Linked DNA regions of Homo sapiens: region 2 is linked to region 1. The links are contacts of gene promoters, found by promoter capture Hi-C in human tissues and cell types (Jung and others, 2019). All regions are on one chromosome and are shown on one strand. Each heading gives the region's core, a stretch centred on a gene start or on the middle of the fragment in contact. The rest is flanking DNA. Distances are from core to core; before and after follow the strand shown. Region 1 holds the start of RANBP3L (RAN binding protein 3 like). Region 2 has its middle 42 kb from the start of NIPBL-DT.

The links. The method cuts DNA at HindIII sites, captures the fragments that hold promoters and counts their contacts. A contact is called where the count stands out against the background at its distance.
Region 2: a contact is called between a fragment that was not itself captured here and the fragment with the promoter of RANBP3L in region 1, in 2 of the 25 tissues and cell types used here (dorsolateral prefrontal cortex and spleen).

What each region holds. Positions count from the first base shown.
Region 1 is chr5:36,299,999-36,305,899 of GRCh38, reverse strand. RANBP3L (RAN binding protein 3 like) reads left to right here and starts at 3,998. Exons shown (of 14, transcript NM_145000.5): 1 at 3,998-4,574. The coding sequence starts at 4,484. The region is part of intron 1 of LOC124900962 (a long non-coding RNA gene); the gene reads right to left. The HindIII fragment of the contact is 10,640 bases long and covers 1-5,901 here.
Region 2 is chr5:36,831,553-36,837,354 of GRCh38, reverse strand. No RefSeq gene overlaps it. Among named protein-coding and RNA genes, the nearest start is that of NIPBL-DT, 42 kb to the left of the region's middle. The HindIII fragment of the contact is 4,598 bases long and covers 543-5,140 here.

The DNA of each region.
Region 1 (5,901 bases), core at 2,749-5,248:
AAATCTAAGGCTCAGCAGCAAAAGGGCCCAAATTAGTCTGAACTGCCAACGCAATGTTTATGTAGTGAGGCAATATTTATGATAAACATGACCCAAATGTTGGTGTTCAATGGGTTAAAGATCAATTGTAGCAATTTCAGGATAGAGAGCAGCTTTGATAAGTAAGCAGTTTGGTGCTATGCCAGTGTAGTCTCTTGAATCCACGGACAGGAGCAAGTATTCAAGTGAAACTATCTCTACCATTATTTGTGTTTCCTATGTTTTTACAGATGGCAGTTATGGGAATCCAGCCAACAGTGCCACCTGGGAAACTCTATGAGCTAAACACTATAGTACATTGGGGTAATAACATGGCTCTGAATAGCCACGAAAGCCTACCTTTGTGGAGGCTTTACAATATACACCATACATAAGCCACTGTGAGATCCTGAAACTCAACATTCTCATCTATAATATATCTGATTGTGTATTAAGGAAGAGTAATCTGGAAACAAATCAACCACTGCTTGATATAAAGGAGCAGGGGATCTGTTTTTTAAAATCAACAGAAAATCTAAAATCTTGACACTAATTCATCAGCCTTCAACTATAATGATCATTTAATAATTCCTGTAGTACTTTGGGGATCATAATGAGGCTAATCCCAGCCACAGTTTTCATGTTTGCCTGCTGATAGGGGTCTTTAAACTTATTCTCTAAGAATGAGAGTGATAAATTCAATAATATTGCTTTTTATTTATATAGCACCTATCATTCCAAGCAGTCCAAAGGCCTTCAAATAATAGATATACTTGCAGACTAGACATCACAAATGCTTTTGAAACATGGCAGGTTATTAACTAAACAAGTAACTCACTTGTGGACTAATTTTAAATGCATGTGTCCTTGCTTTTTGAATATGGTAACTGAGAAAAGTAAACCCTCCTGTAAACCTAATACCATTTAGCTTGTTCAGCCACACACTGTGCTTTTTGAGGTATAAATTCTAGCAATAAAATATCAATTTTTTGAAGTATCGACCCCCAAAGTGCCAGCTGGTATGATTGATTATCTGTGATGCGCCATTTCACTCTACTCTTCCGGAAGTACAAAGACACAGGTTAAGCAGAGAAGATATGGCAGATAAGGAAAACCCCAGGAAAAGGAAACCAGTGGTATCCTTTTGTGGGGATCACAGAGACTTGATAAGGGAAGAAGTTTGGCCTTTATAGGATTCAAATTCATTTTTAATCAATTGTAAGTAAAAATGCCAAAGATGATTCACCTCTTTCTTGACCCAGCCAGACTTCTGCAATCTGATTTCTTGTTTTCATTTATGCAAAAAAAAGGAACAATATGCCCACTGTGAACTAATTTGGTGATGTTTCTGGAAAGTAAGTGGGGAAAGGGGGAAGCAAAGTAGTCCCCCATCCCACTGTAGCTGATATATCTGAGGTTATCTTATGTACTCCTGTAACGTGCTGCTTTCTGCCATGCTGGATGATTTCCAGTGGAAACTGGTAAATCAAACCAGAGACTCCTTCGAGAACAGCAATGGAACTTAACAGGCAGTGTAGGAACCCAGGATTCCCTTGACTCAGCTAATCCCTCACAAGGCCACTGCCTGGGACTGCCTCGTTGATGCACGAAAGAGGAACCAGTAGCATTCCTTTGTATCCTCCCTGTCCCCTTACGTTGTGGCACTTGAAATTACTGTTTAAGGAGGGTTTGGTTTCTTCGGCCCTCAAGAAAGATGTAATGAATGAAATAGTGGAACAAACCAGCTCCGTTTAAGCAGATAATGCTTGTTTATTTAGACTAGAGGACTTATAAAAATATATAGATTCCAGATTGCACCTTAGGCATCAGACTGTGCAGTTGGGGCTCGGGAATCTACATCTTTACAATATGGCCTAGGTAATTATGATTCTTAGCTAAGTTTGAAAACTGAGGGACTAGATTTTCAAATATACCCCTAAATCCTACCCAGATTTTAGTTTTAAATCTATTTCTTTCTCCTTAGGCTCTAGTCAGAGACAAAGTAGGATACTCCTCCCTTTCCCAGGCCTTTATATCCATAGAATGAGTGTTGAATAATTTATCCCATTGCTTAGCAAACATTTGTTTCATATGCTAAATGAAGACACAAACCCAGAAATGTTAAGTGGCTGGGTCAAGGTTGCACTGTATATGAATGAGAACACCATGGCAAGAAAGCTGGATGTCTTAGCCTCCATGGCCAGATGACCACCCTTTTTTTTTCTCTTTTTTTCCTGAGTAAGAAAAATGGAGGCATCTAGGGGGCTTCCTTGAAAAAATCAGACATAAATTAGGGTAAGTGTAGATGTTCATCTCCAAGCAACATTTCTCTCTGAGATGAACCTATAGATTAAAAAAGACTTGAGAAACATATCAACCAAATACAATGTGTGGACCTTTGGGTCCCAATTTGCAAAAAATGTAAAGATAAAAAAGTTTATGAGACAATCAGGAAAATAAGAACACTGTGTGGATGCTTAATTACATCAAATAATCATATTTAATTGTTATGTGCGTGACTATCTTATTATGGTTATCTATTTTTAAATCCTCACATTTTAGAAATATACACTGAAATATTTATTAATGCAATGATGTCTGGATGCTTCAACTCCAGTGGTGTAATAAGGGGGAGAACAGCTATAATGAAACACATAGTTTTAAGACACGATTGTCTATGAGTTGATAATATTGAAGCCAAGTGATGAGTATGCAGGGCTTATTGTGCTATTCTCTCCTATTCATGTATTTTTAAATTTTTTCATCATAAAACATTTTAAATGTATTTCTCAAAAGGGCTGGCTTACAGTTTTGTAGGTTATTTAACTTACCTGTATAATAATATGCTTATTAGTGAGGTACATAACTTGATAGAATAACAATAACTTTACATATTCAGGAAAAATCACCTTGTCTCTCCACCATGGCTTTTGTGGAAGATGAGATGAATAGCAGACATTTAAAGTAGAAACTATGACTCTCCAATAACAAGACTCTCTTTCAAAGTAGCACAACACTTCTGTCATCTGTTACACTGTGATTAGCCTAAAACTGCAGTAGATAGACTACTGAAACAATTAAAGCATTCAAGAATTATAAAAGATCAATCACCTACTTCATAAAAATTTTCATAAACCAGACTATACTTGGGGAATTGTTAATTGCCTCAAAGTAAAATGAGGGCAGCCACCCAGATCTGGTTAGGAGGTAAATTCATTACAGTGTCAAGTTTAACACCAATTTCCAAATGCACATAAGAAGCTGCAGAGTCCAGACTTCGAGGCTAAACAGCTCTGCCTTTCTCCTTAGTCCTGCCCACTACCTTCTTTCTGAATCTGCGAAGAGCTGTGACTCTTGAAGGGCAGGACCTACCAGCATTCATTATGACTTCAGTTATGGCAAGCTCTCAAGTTAAATTAATGGTGTTTGGGGTTTATGTTTCCAAACAGTAAGGAAATAGCCAACGAGTAAAACTGGAAATTACTTTCTCCTATGACCTAGAAGTAGCAATAAGAACTCTAAGTGGGAAACAGAAATAGGACTCTGGAAAGATAATGTTTTGTGTGTTTATTTTTCTTCCAGAACTCCAAATAGTTGCCTTGGCAGGAAGGCTGCCCTCTAACTGCTCCCTTCCGAAGACTAGGAGGTGTTTACAGAAATTGAAAGTTCCAGCAGTACATTTCCATGAGCTCATTACCAGTTCCATTTATACCTTTTAGATTTCACATGCACAAATGAATGTCCTTGCAGTATAAACTCCTGCTTTCAGCTTGCATTTTAATTACAAACAAAGTAGCAGAAATCAGGTACTCAGTTACTGTAACATAAGGGCAGGGCATCTTTAGAATCTGTGCTTTGTTCACTATTATTCAAAGCAGCTCCAATGCCCGTCTTGCCTGCCTCTTTATGCTAATCATCCTAGCCCACTTTGCTCCTCCTCCTTCCAGAGTCCCTTAAGAACTGTACACTTTCAGCTGTCACAGAGGGTAACTCAGATCAGGCTTAGAAATCACTTGACTTAACTCAGCAGCACTTTTTCTTTTCTTTGTGTCTGTATTATTTTAGCAGCCTTCTCTAAATACTGGAGGCATTGGATTTCATGTCGCCAAAAGGAATTTAAAAATGACAAAAGTGTAATCTGTTAGAAATAGTTAATTTGTAGAATTTTACTCTATAAGGAGGTTTAGTTTCAATTTGTTTTGAAATGAAGGAATTAAGTTGTGTTTTTAACCAAATGAATTGGCATCTTTATATTTAGGAGAAGTAACATTGGTGATTATTTATTTCAAGAATCATGACTGGAAAAAGCTTGGAAGTTTAGTAGAGGAGTATATGTTGTACATGCAAAGACAAGATCTGCATGAATCTATGTATTTCTGGGTGTCTGGTGAAGGCCACTTTAGGTGACTGGCCAGAGAAGGAGGTGCCCTAGTGATCCTTGAGTCACAGCCATACTGCTAGGACCATGACTACCATACCAAGAAAAGGCAGCAGCCACCTGCCTGGCAGTTTGCACACCTGTAAACTGAAGCTGCAGGAGGACCGGCGACAGCAAGGTGAGTCCGTCCAGCTCATGAGTTGCATATTCTGTGACCTTCTGTGCATTTGCATTCCAGGAAGAATGGTGGGCTGGTGAAGGACCCGGGGAAGCTCTGACATAATAGTGATGCATAAGGGTGGGTTAACTTGGATTCACTATTGATTTTTAGAGGACTATGGAAGACTGTCAAGAATGCATATTCCTTGGAGCTGTCATTCTGAAACTTACATGCTTAAACTTCTAGCCACTGTGTTTTTTAGAGTATGCTAGATTTTGTCTAATTCAAAACACCCATCTGAGCAAGGCTGAGTCAGCTACAAGGGGGATTTCAGCTGAGAGTAGCTTTAAGTTAGCCTGGAGCTTTCTCTACCATAGTACCACTGGTGGGACACTTTTTTCACTTTGTTTAAGCCTAAGTTTGTCTGGATCTCTGGCTCATTCATTGTGGGAAAAATAAATATATTCTTGACTCTTTCCTTTTTATGGTCCAGGGACATCTGGAGACAGTCAGGGAAAAGTGTCACATTTCACTTGCTGGGCACTCATTCAAACTAAACTATCTACCTCCCAGCCATTTTCACCATCAGTCTTTTTAAATTTTCAAATCCACTCTCCAGCCAGCTGAGTTAGTGTCAGATGGTTGACATGAATAGACAAGATGATCCCTCCAATCCACCCTGTCAGGGACAGCAAATGACACTTGTGGGAAAGGCTGGGTCTCTCATGGATGACATCATCACTCCACAGAGGTTAAGGATTCACCAGACACTTCTAACTTCTCCTCAATAACCTAGGATAGATCTTTTTATGTGTAGGTCTAGGCAATGAGCTCTTTAATTATTTTTCTGTAGACGCAGTTTTAGATTTCAGTGGTGTGGAGAGTGTTGGCTAAAGGGCCAAAACCTCCCATTTCCAAGATGGAATCTGTGTGCTAACAGTCACATGAATGTGTCAGGCCACCTCTCTGCATCGGTTCCTGGAGCTGTATAACATGACTTCATGCTCTACAAGGCTTAGCATAGTGTCGGCAGAAAATACTTCATGGTAAATGAAAACAATGTGAACTTTTAGACCATGCTTTACTACTAGTGCTCAAATAAATTTTGAACCAAGTACCCTAGAATGTAAAGTCCTGGAATGTGTCAGGGTTAAGGCATAGCACTGTAAAATGCTCTTGCTTCTCTGTTAGTAAACAATTCTAGTTTATCAGAGGTTTTTGTTTTCTGTTGACTTTGTATGAAATGTTAAAGTGACTTCCCCCCACTTCAATTGCTAATATGATAATTTTAATAGAAAATTTGGTGGGGGTGAGCCTAAAGAAGTCACCTGTAACCCCACCACCC
Region 2 (5,802 bases), core at 1,592-4,091, 530 kb before region 1:
CTACAACAGTTTTTTTTTAACTTTGAACAAGCATGGTTAGAAATCTTGAAGTCAGGAATAAGCTGGGAACAAACAAAGTATGGAAGCCTTGGCATTAGTTAGTTCTAATAATGATTTGGTAGTGTACAAGACTGGTGAAACAGGTATCTGATTATACTTATGTGTTTACATTTCTTTTCATCTTGCTTTAGTTAAAACAATTTTTAAAAAACATCTTTATTATCTTAGCTCTCTTACCATTTTAGTAAACATCAGCAGGTCTAGTTATTTCCAGAGTTCTCTATTTCTCTAACTTCCTTTTTCGTGTGTGCAGACCTAAAGCTGCCCTACCACATCCCATTCCCCATCTCCTCACTTCATCAGGAAGTGCAGAAGAATGTGAACTGCATGCTTTGCCATCAGGATGTTCCTGGGGTCCTGATTTTCCTCTTAGCTTAATAGTTTATGTCCTGGACCAGTGGAAATATAATATGAGATACATTTGCTCTTTTAAGTTTTCTAGTAGCCACATTAAAAAAGTAAAAAGAATTAGGTGCAATAAATTTTAGGAATATATTATATTTAACCCAATATATCTAAAATACTATCGTTTCAACATGTAATCAAAATTTAAAATTTTAATGAGACATTTTATGTCCTTTTAAAATAATGTCTTCTAAATCCATTGTAGGTTTTACACTTACAATACATCTCAATTCAAACAAGACACATTTCAAGTTCTCACTAGCCACATATGGCTGGAGACTACCATATTGAACTGGGAAGTTCTAGATCTTACCCCCATTGACTTTTGAGACCTGGCAATCCCAATCTACCTTGTTCTGTAGTGACTGTGCTGCAAGTACCTTGTCTAGACTCTGACATGACTTCCCATTTCTAGACCACCGTTCACTTTGAACTTTTAACTCCTGAATTGCTGATTCCAGAAAAGGACATTTTGCTTGGCTCTCTCCATACCTACTCCCTGTCTGACTAACATTGTCCTGCTGTTACATATTTGGCATGACATCAAGTAATTATTCAGGCTTTTCTGCATTAGAAGAGAGTTCTATTTTATAGAAAAATTATCATTGAGTGGAAGAACATGCTGAATTCTCTGTGGATCCTTTAAATTTACCTATGGGAAACTAAACTATTTGGAAAATAGTACTATTATCTGGTTTCCAGATCCACTTATGGCTACTTACTGCTTGCTGACATAGTACACAGAAGAAAATAACTTTTAAACATCAGAAGCTAAATATTATCTTAGTCTTTCTCTTTAATTTTTTCAGTGAAAAATTCCTAATTTGTTTTTCCAAAGCCAATGGATGTTTCAATGTTTCAGGTAGAATGGGGCCAATGTCATGCACTCAGAAAGGCAGAGAAAAAAAAATTAATAATTTTCAAAATATACCTAACCCTGTCCTCCCCAGTTAGCTTGGAAACCTTAATAGTCTTTTAACTTTTCTATTTTACCTTTGAGAGCAAACCTCTGTGGTTGCAAGTGTATGCTTGCAGGCCAAATTCAACCTTGAAGATGTGTTTTATTGGCTCACACAGTGTTTAAAATTTTTCTGAACCAACATTTAGAAATTGGGAGCTTTCATGTAAACATTCAGCTTTCTAGCTTCTTTTAAAAAATTGGAAGACTTGTCCACACTGGGCAATCTTCCTACATAGTACTTTTTGGCTGAGCTGGACTTGAGAAGGGCCATGCTCTTGCTATTTTGATATAGTCAATTACCCCGGCCCGTTTCTTTCATGTAATAGATAAGTCTGTTCTCATCTGGGCACTTGCATCTGCAATATCTAGAACTCATCATACCTGTCTGCCCTTTGTCTTCCACCAATCTCTGGGGGACAGGTGTCTCTTATTTTTGAGAGGCCTTCTTTTTAGCTCCTGAATCTTCTAAAGATTTTAGCTCCTGAATCTTCTAAAGATTCAGGTGGGGCAGAACAGTGGAGGTAAGCTGATTAAGTATTCAAGTACCTCTTAAGTCTCAGGTGAAACACAACCAAATTCATTGACGGTCATCAGTTTTAGGGGAATTCTTGGCTAGTAATCTCGGAAACTCCCTTTCCTTGCGAGCTCCTGGAAATAATAGGTCATTTTATAAGCCGGTGAATGAAAAGTTCAGATGTCAGTGAGAAATACTTTTCAGCAAAGTCTCTTTATTCTCTACTCAAAATAATATTGGTAAATAATGAAATGTTACTTATACTAATTACTCAAACCACTGGTAGTGTAGTGTCTTTCCTAAATAGTTGAATGATTTCAAAGGTCCAAACAGGAATTAGAGATCCCCTGCCCTCTATTCCACTCCAGCTATCTTTCTTAAGGAAGGCAGAATAAAAAGGGATTTGTCTGGGTGGAATGCAATATCCAGAAACTGGTCATTGCTTCCATCCCTTAATGGGTCTGATCTCCTTTAATACTCAAGGTGATGGACAGTGATGATCTCTGATTAATACTTTTACTTTCTCACATGCGGGTATTAAAAACCAATTTTTAGCAGAGATTTTCTATCAGAGATAACTCAGTGTAAGCCAAAAAAATTAGTAGTCCATGGACTTTGTTATTGCTATCAATTACATAAATGATTTCATTAGAAGGGGAAGCCTCACTGTGCCTGATCAAAGTTTAGAAGTTTGTATGTTCACTGACAAGGAAGCATTGTAACATGGCAAATGGCCAAGAGAGTCCCCAGCTGTCCCACTTCTTCAGGATGATTTAACGGTCTGACTTACCCTACCTCAAAGTCTCCTTTACCTCCAACCAACTCTACAAAATATAAGTCACCTTAAGCCTGTGGCTCTCAATCCTTAATGAGGGAGCTTATACAATGCAGATTCCTGGGTCCTACCTTTAGAGACTCCAGTTTCACCAGTTCTGGGATGGGGCTGAGGATTCTGCATTTTTAAGAAACCCTTGCAGGTAACTCTGATGCAGGTGATATGTATATATACATTGAAAAATCACTGCCTAAGGGCATTCTAGCATCTTGATGTTAAAATCATACTAAGGATATAACTCTCTAACATCCTCTCCTGAAAACACATTCTAATGTTGATGGTGGGATTTGGGAGGAGATCATATACGTTAAAAGTTGACACATCATAAAGATGGGACCAAGGTACATAAAATTGGGACTTTTTGCAAACCTAATTCGTCATAATTTCATGAAGCTTCTTGTGTAGTAATAAAATTTTAGAATAGGCATACAGCACAAGACAGAATAAATGATGGAAGAGAAAAACATTTATCTTCTAAAGAGGTATCTTTTTTTTTTTTTTTTTGACAGGTCTCACTCTGCCATCCAGACTGGAGTGCAGTGGCACAATATTGGCTCACTGCAACCTCTGCCTCCCAGGTTCAAGTGATTCTCCTGCTTCGCCTCCTGAGTAGCTGGGATTACAGGATGCGCCACTACCGCCTGGCTAATTTTTTTTTTTTTTTTTTTTTTGTATTTTTAGTAGAGACGGGGTTTCACCATGTTGGCCAGGCTGGTCTCAAACTCCTGGCCTCAAATGATCTACCCACCTCAGCCTCCCAAAGTGCTGGGATTACAGACATGAGCCACTGCACCCGGCCTTGTTTTTTTTTTTTTTTTTTTTTTTTGGTAGAGACAGGTCTTGCCATGTTGGCCAGGCTGATCTCGAACTCCTGAGCTCAAGCGATGAGGCTCCCCTCGGCTTCCCAAAGTGCTGGGATTACAGGTGTGAGCCTCTATGCTCCTCCCAAAAGGGGCATCATTAAAAGGCTTTAGATAGTGCTTGAAGTTGAATGGAATGGGGAAACTATCAACTTTTACTTTTCTGAAAATTAGTTAAGAAGATTTTCTATTACAAGTAACAGATTATCCAATCATTAATTACATAATCCACAAAGACATCCAAATATCTCAGCAAACAAGTAGTCTGCAAGTAGGGGGTTCCAGATGACCCAGGTACCCTCTTCTCTGCCTTCCTCAGACTGCTGGCCTATTGTTCTAGACTTAACCACCTCACAGTGACAAGATTGTTGCATCCTTATATATTTAAAGCAGAAAGAAAGGATTATTTTACTTTGAGTAAGACCCTCCTAGAAGTCTAGTCAGCAGACTTCCCCTTATATCTCATTGGTCAAAATTAGGCAAAACTAAGTCACATTAACCATTAACAAAGCAGGATGAGATTACACTCTTCATTTAGACCAATTATGGTTCATTTCCTCTTCTGGAGGGAAAACCCACCTTCTCTGAAATGCTACTGCTAGAAATAATTCAAGGTTCCTTAAATTGCTATATAAACAATGAAAAATTAGGGAATGTTAGGCAACCAACCATATCTACCTCAGTTTTGAAATTATCCTTTGGATTTTAGTGGTTGCAGAATCCTAGGAATGCATTGAGAATGGGGTGGTAGGTTGAGTAAGTGAAAGGTTATGGTCAGAATTACTTCTGGGAATGGTGGTAGGGTAGGGTAGAGTGGGAATGGGTATATGGGAGAGATAACTTGGAGGAAGAGTTGGCCTGTTTTGGTCCTTGGTAAGAACTTAAAGGGTTTGTAAAGCTCATATTATCACAAGGAATAATAAATACAAGTGACAGAAAGCTTGTTACATCTTCTAATGTTCTTTTGGTTATTTCTGGAACCTATCTGTAAGATTGCTTATGGCAATAACTCAGTATCTTACTGCTTCTATTTGAATATAAAACAAAGTATAATTTCACCTTCTTACAACTCACTTACATAAAAGACGACAGTAAATAGTACTGTATAGTGTTTGATTTTTATCATCAATCCTGGAGATCACATAGATATTCAGATATGCTAGAAAAAGAAATGTCAACAAACATAATGCATTTGTTTATTTTGTGTGTTGCTTTGTTCCAAAAATACTTGAAGTAGCTTAAAAGAATGTGTCTAATATAAACAGAGTCAGAAGTGGAAATGTCAGCCTAACACCTAAGGAGTACAAATTTGCTTTTGTTTAATTATACATAACACAAAATGGTGAAAAATAAATTTAACCCTTTCTGTGACTAATGTTAGACTTTTAAAGATTATTATTTCGAAATTAAAATCCAAATTATTGCAATTGAGAAGTTTTTGTTTTCAACTATGTCCTCATTAAAATTGTTTAAAACAAAGGAATTTGTTCTTTTGTAAAAGTTTCAAAACACTAAACTTGAACATTGATTTACATGTCAACACACTTAATGATTACTTAAATTTTTACTTCACGAAAATTTAATTTCTATTTCAGAAGTAGAGTTTATATTTAATAGTTATTGACATTTTAAACATTTAAAGACAATTGATATGAACAATATTGAAGAAATGGGTGTCCACTGACATTTTATGAGGAAGTTAAATTTTACTGAAGTGAATTGGAAATTGCTGTTGTTTCAAAATAATTAATGCAATGCAATGCTCTTCAACTTTAATAAAGGATCATCCTTTCTTGAAATATGAAGGGAATTGACAACAACATGTAATATTGTCTTTTTAAATTAAAACCTTAAACTTTGGAAAATAAATCCTGCAGAGTGGCTTAATAATAGGGATCCTCTTGATTGTTTTTTTCAGTTAAGCAATTAGAAAACAGCAAAGATTTTAATCTCCTTTTCCCTCAAAAATGAAAAACATTCCATCTGTGTTAATGGCATAAAAAATTTAACCTTAAACATTTGTAATAGAATATAAAATTCTTCATACCAGACTTTATAATAGAAAATAAGCTTAATCTAAATTATATTTTTTTGTTTTGCCAATTATGTATGTACGTGTATACATATATGTCTATGTGTGTGTATCTGTGTATGATCTGAGAAACTT